2 separate regions of the Homo sapiens genome follow, and region 1 is linked to region 2. Evidence: promoter capture Hi-C in human tissues and cell types (Jung and others, 2019). All regions are on one chromosome and are shown on one strand. The core of a region is centred on a gene start or on the middle of the fragment in contact, and the rest is flanking DNA. Distances in the headings are between cores, read along the strand shown.

What was found. Contacts are between HindIII fragments. The study calls those that stand out against the background at their distance.
Region 1: a contact is called between a fragment that was not itself captured here and the fragment with the promoter of CYP24A1 in region 2, in 6 of the 25 tissues and cell types used here (H1 embryonic stem cells, heart left ventricle, lymphoblastoid cells and 3 more).

What each region holds. Positions count from the first base shown.
Region 1 is chr20:53,327,812-53,331,043 of GRCh38, forward strand. All of the region lies in intron 2 of TSHZ2 (teashirt zinc finger homeobox 2), which reads left to right. Among named protein-coding and RNA genes, the nearest start is that of TSHZ2-AS1, 170 kb to the right of the region's middle. The HindIII fragment of the contact is 3,606 bases long and covers 155-3,232 here.
Region 2 is chr20:54,172,072-54,175,370 of GRCh38, forward strand. It overlaps CYP24A1 (cytochrome P450 family 24 subfamily A member 1), which reads right to left and starts at 1,915. Exons shown (of 12, transcript NM_000782.5): 1 at 1,251-1,915; 2 at 838-1,028. The coding sequence starts at 1,508. RefSeq lists an enhancer at 1,545-2,138. The HindIII fragment of the contact is 4,712 bases long and covers 1-3,299 here.

The sequences.
Region 1 (3,232 bases), core at 708-3,207, 840 kb before region 2:
CCTGGGTGGAAACTAGTGTAAAGAGGATGACAAGGAAGTCCTGACCAATGTGAGACCTGTGCAGTGAGGAGTCAGCCACACGGAGAGCAGCAAGGGCCAGCAGCCCAAGGCGAGAGTGCACTTTGCATTTGAGGAACAGAAAGGTTTCGTGACTGCAGACTTGTGAATTTGGAAGCAAGTGGGAAGAGGCCAACCAGGGCCTGACCCTTGGTAAAGATATGCAAAGTGAAGCCTTGGGAGTCATTTAAAGCAGGGGGCTGGGATGTGTGCTGGTTATACATTGAGGGACGATAAACCTGACAATGGTGCTCACCCTTAGAGTCCAACACACTCTTCCATCATGACCAGTAGGAGGAAATGTGTGCCGAGATTGCTAAATTTCCAAGATTGCATGTAACTCCCAGCATGCTTCATCTGTGCTGTATTTTATAAAATATCTGCATAAACAGAAATATTTGAAATAGAGCCTATTCTGGAAAATACTGGAAATTGAGAAGGTCGTGGAAATCGTACATGCAGCACTGTGCAAGCAGCAGGATATGTATAAATCCAACTCTGTTTGTAAGTAGTTGGAATCTCAGCATTTACAGACTTATCATTTGTAATTTGGACTCTTTATTCCTGAGCTACTCACATTATAGAGGCATAGTAATTTGTCCTCTCTGCAATGCTGATCAGAAACAGTGATGTGAACCGTCCGGAACATCTGTGCACTAGCCAATAAATGATTGAATATTGATAAGCCATTGATAATTGATTATTCAACATACAGAATCAGTAGCAAAGCATTTTCTTGTCTAATTTGATGAGGAATTAGCATCTTTCTATTCTAATCATAAGAGCATTAAAAATTATATTGTTCCTTTTTCCCAGTGGTTGCCAGGAAGCTCATATACGAAGTGAATGGTTAATCACAGTAGCCATTCTAATTTTTATCATTAAGATATTTGCTTTATCCTCCTTTTTAAGCTTTTTTTATTTATTTCCATTATATATCACCTTAAATCTTTTTGTAGCTAAAGGTGGAATATCAATTTTTTTAATTGCATGTTTAAAGCCATAACCCTGGCCTGCTTGATAGATACTTTAGAAATGTTATATCCACCAGTGGCAGGGTGTGAATAGTTAATTGAATCAGCAATTAAATACATCATTATAGATAATTTCTAGAAAATGTTAAGCTTCAGGACTTTAGCCAAGAATGTATCACCCAGGCAAGTAACATTTCTACTAGAAAATCAGGTTCTACCATAAATTCAAGGTCTGACTATTGCCATCGGAAGGGTTTCAAGCTTAATATAAACCAGGAATGTTTCTCATCACTCGAATGCATTTGCCAAAGAACTTCAACTTCTGTCTCCTTTCCTGTTGAACTTTAAAAACCGGAGAGGCAACTGTCTGTCGAGACTGTTTTGTCTAGAGCAGGGCTGGAGGCAGGAATCCAGCATTATAAGTTTCAATTCTTGGTCCTCAACTCAAAGCTTTGGGAAGCACCTTCATTGTACCCTGTTAATCACAAAATTAACTTAAAACTAAAAGAGTCTGTCTTCTCTTTGCTTCCTACAAAGCAGGATGTATGGGGGCGGTGATTATACACAGACCCCAGGACTGTATTTCTGTGATCTAGCATCGAAAACCATTTATGGCTGAATTTAACTCCGGAAAGCCCTGCTTTCTCTTTTCTTCTGATCCTCCATATCAATATCAGTCTGATGACTCTGGCATTTACTGGCACAGCTGACCGTAAACACACTGCAGCCATTAACCAGAAATCACCCACATGTGGGATTTGGTCATAAACATGGGCCTTGCGTCTAGACTAATTATATGGATAATGGTTGTGGGGGGCGGGGGAGGGCGTAAAAAGAGGAAGAATGCCAAAATCTGGAAGATATTCTAGGTAGTTTTCCGTAACTTTTCTAAAAACAAAGAAATCAGCTAAAAACAGCAAGCACTTTATTTTTTAATAATATAACTAATAGGCATCCACTGGAGGAAAAGAAAGAGAAAGAGAGAGAGAGAGAGACAGGGAGGACAGAGCCAGGCCAATGTTAATTTGTATCACTAACATTTTGGGACACTTTAAGGTTTACTACAAAAATTCTAGATCAGGGTTGATACACTGAAACCCTCAGGCCAAATCCAACCCACTGCCTGTTTTATAAATAAAGTTTTATTGGAACACAGCCATGTCCATTTGTTTACATGTTATCTATGGCTAATTTCACGATACAATGGCAGAGTTACAGAGACCATATGGTATGCAAAGCCTAAAATATTTCTTTATTATCTGCCCCTTTCCAGAATAAGTTTGCCAGCTCCTGATCTAGACTTTTTTGTCTCTACATATTTATCTTTTACATAGTCTTTCAACTTTTTTTTTAACCTTTTGGCTTGAAATAATTATAGATTCATAAGAAGTGCAAGGAAATGTAAGAAGAAGCCCAGTGCACCCTTTCCGAAGCTTCCCCCAGTGCTTGCATAACTATAGGGCAATAACAAAGCCAAAGCTAGTTCAGATTTCACCAGTTCACCTGCCATCATTTGAGGTGATATGTAGGCTTTTTAAACATAAAAGGGGTATGAAATACAATGCCTTTAACGTTAAGAGTGATAATAATGAGAAGCCTTCAATTGACAGACTGAAGAGAAAGAAACGTGAATACGGTTAGTGCAGCCTGAGAATCTCCTAAGAGTCCGATATGATCCAACAGTCCTAAGAAAACCAGAACTATTTCCTCTGTACCAGTAGTCACTCCTAAGTCATAACAGCCAGGACATTTAGGTGGAGATTGTATGTTTTATTTTCTCCTAAACTTATAATCCTCTCTACTTTCCTTCTTCTGCATCCCCATCATCTTGACACTAAAAAAAGAAAAAGAAAGACAGAAAATGTGTGCATGAAATGTGACCAGGGAATCAAAGATGACAGAGCTTTGATAAGGTCCAGAAAGTCTCAGCCCCTCCAAAGCAAGCGATTAAAGAGAAAGGTGACGTTCGGTTTATTCAAATATGTTTATCTGACATCTGTCTGGGTTTCATCTGAAGTGTGTAGGCTCCTTCTGGATCCTTCCCCACAAGAGCCTGGCTTCAGTATCATACACTTTGCGTGGGATGAAGTTCTCAAGCCTCAACAGCTAAGGAAATCTGCCAGGGTGTCTGGCAAACTGTGTAAGAGGGAGAAACACCCCAGCTCTGAATTCAGCCTGCTGTGAATTATATTATAACCAAC
Region 2 (3,299 bases), core at 665-3,164:
CTCATTGGTGTGGGCTTCATATTTACAAAATATCTCAGATTTAGAATTTTGCCATCGCCTCCAAATAATAACATACAGTCAGAGAGTCACTGGAGTAATAAAAAGCCTTTTGCGATCGTGCACTTGTAGGCACCTGCCCCATAGCAGACCATACAGCCTGTGAAGCACCGTGAATTAATAGGGTTTTTAATTCCAGTCATTATATCCTGGAAAATATAACGATTAGGCATTACAGTTTGGGGGTAAATAAAGGTGCTAACTTGTTAAATGCTAACAACTAAAAAGCAGAAGAATCACATCCCATAGTAGCATTTGTCGACCTAAAACACAACTTTGATATCCCTCCTTATTCCACCTTTACAAGTAGAAATAAGGCATGTCCCCCAATCCTCTGCAGAAAATGTCACTGTAAAAAGCCAAAGAGGCTAACTCCTCGCTTTTGAGCTTACAAGGTGTTTCAGGGAGTTTTAAGGGATAATTTTGTTTGTATAAGATGTTTGCCTGGTACGCTGACTTCAGAACCTCATCCTGCCCAAGAGTCTGAACACCACAGTTGGTACAACCCTGTTTTGGCGTTTCTTTGATGGGAGGGTGTGGCCCTGCCCTGTTGCCAGAGAGAACGCAGGTGCTGGGTGCACAGCACGGCTTTTCCGTGGACCGACTCTAATCTGTACAAGAGCTCAGGGTTGCGATGGCACGGGAGAGGGGCTTTGGTATCCGCCCTACGTAAGAAGCTTCCAACCCCAGGGAACTCTAACTCCGCCTCTTCACAATTTCCAGGCGCCGTCAGGCTCATCAGGTCTGGCCGCATGCCCAGGTCCCTCGGATTGGACTCACAGGATCAGCAGCCCGTAGCCTTCTTTGCGGTAGTCGCGATAGGCCTTCCACGGTTTGATCTCCAGCCGCTGCGGGTACGCGCTCTCGGTGCGGTACAGCGCTTCCAGCAGGCATGGCGAGCCCAGGTGCACCGACTCAAAGGAACCCAACTTCATGCGGAAAATCTTGCCATACTTCTTGTGGTACTCCACCTGCAGCCGGCCGGGCACAGCGCGGTGTCAGCGCGCATCCTCCGCCGTGCCCGAAGCGCTTTCCCTCCTCCCGCCTCCTTCCTCCTAGGGGACCGGGGACCCTCCCTGCCCAGACGCCGAAGCGCACCATGCGCCCGAGGCGCGCATGTCGGGGAGGGTTTGGAGCGCCACTGGGAGGGCGGAAGAGGGAGGAGAGAGTCAGGGGCGCGAAAAGGGGTTTACCAGGGTGTCGTGCTGTTTCTTGAGACCCCCTTTCCAGAGAATCTGCAGCAGGCTGCCCAGCAGTGGCCAGCTGGTGGGGCCCGGCAGGGCGGCCGCGTTCTGAGTCTCGCCACCAGCTGTCAGCGGGCAGACTGGCACCTCTCGCGGCTGAGGGGACGTGTACGCCGTAGATGTCACCAGTCTCGGGGGCTGCCTCGGACTGCGCAGCTGCTGCAGGAAGGCGGCAAGCGAGCGGCTCTTGCTGATGGGGGAGCTCATGGCAGCGGGGGACACCGGAGCGCGGGAAGGCAGGAGGATGGGGTGGGGCGAGGTTGGTACGAGGTGCTAGTGGGAGTCGGGGCTTAACGATTCTGGGAAAAGGAAGCAAAGAGGGCCAGCTGGTGTGATGGAGCGGGGTGAGGCGGGACAGGCAGCAGAAAGGACCTCGGCGAGGATGCTCGACGCTGCACCACGCGACAGCCTCAGAGCATTGGTGCCTCCTTGCACTGGCCGCAGGGGCTGGAAGAGGGTGGCCGGTGTCTGGGGACCTCTTGAAAAGGGAAAGCTGGGAGTCCTCCTGTTGGTCCGCAAGGCTGACCTCTAGGGTCTGGCTGGAGCCACGGGGAGGTGTCAAGGAGGGTAGATGAGATGCTGCTGGCGCTGCGTTTCCTCCTGTCCCTCTCCATGTTCCTATGCCCAGGGACCATGCATTTATGGAGACAGAGCATGCCCTGGGTGGCCAATGAGCACGCAGAGGAGGGCGGAGTGGCCCCCGGCTGGCCAGACTCCGAGGGACGCGGGACCCAGGGGAGGGGGGGTGGAAGGAGGATGGAGTCAGCGAGGTGAGCGAGGGCGTCCGGGCCTGGGGTGACCGGGGCTATGTTCGCTGGGCGCGGGAGGTGGGGTGGGGGCGGCAGACTCCACCCCGGAGATAACCCCCAGGAAGTCATGCGAAGCCCGGAGTTCACCGGGTGTGCTTCGAACGCGCCTCCCCGCCCTCCCCCGGCGGGCAGGAGCCGGCAGCGGCGGCCGTGGTTGCCGCCCGGCGCTTGCACAATCGCGATGCCGGGCGGGCGAGGTCCCCGAGTGCGGGCCCAGAAAAGCTGCCGGCGTCTGCCAGGGCCCCGGGGAGCCCGGGCGCCTCCCGGGGAGCCAGATACCCCCAGCCTGGACTGAAGTGATTTTTTTTTTTTTTTTGCCTTTTTTTTTTTGGAGGAAGTTTGGCTTTCTGCGCCTCCCAGGGTGGGGAGGATTTGAGTCTTACTGAAATGCACCAGAAGAGGAGACTTTCTTAACTTGAGCAAGAAGGGGAGTTTGTAGAATTTCCTTCCTGCTGTTTCATGTTTGGTTGTTTTGCAGATTAAATGAATTAATGCACGTAAAGCGGCAACAACGAAGCCTTGTCTATAGTCAACAGTCAATAAAAGTTAGTTGCTGTTGTTACTTCTTTAGGAAGTTAGGAAATGCGCCTTGAGAGCGTGGCTTGCACCAACGATGCTTGAATTCAGGCTGGGCCACCTCCCCTATGTCCACTGCCCGCCTCTGTTCTTCTACACCGACTACCTTGTGCAAAGGAGGGGCACACAGAGCTTGAAACCACCGCCCCCAGTACTCCCCCTCTCCCCCAAGGTGCGTCCTAGGCAGGTCCAGTGACAAACATACACAATTTCTAGAGTTACCGCGGCTGGCAAGAGTAGAACTCGCTTTGCTAATTCAGGAACGGAAGTTGGAGATTTTTGTTGATTGTTTTAAAGTGGCTCGAATCCTTTCAACCTGATCCAATACAAAACTACCACCAGCCAGGGAGGAGGGGAGGGACATTCTGTTTCCTCGCCCTGCTTTTCAATTACGTGTCTCAGTCATTTTTGCCCCAAGTGTTGGCAAATCCTTCCCTGGTAAATTCTTTTGTAAGCCTCTAGTTTGTTTCTTAAAAATCTTTTGCAGTCCAACTTAAGCTTTAACACCATCATTTCTGATTTGTCTGGAGGGGCTAATGACTGTTTATGTTAATAAAAATAATAGCTATTGATATATACTAAACTTTATGAATCTTGTACATATTTATATATA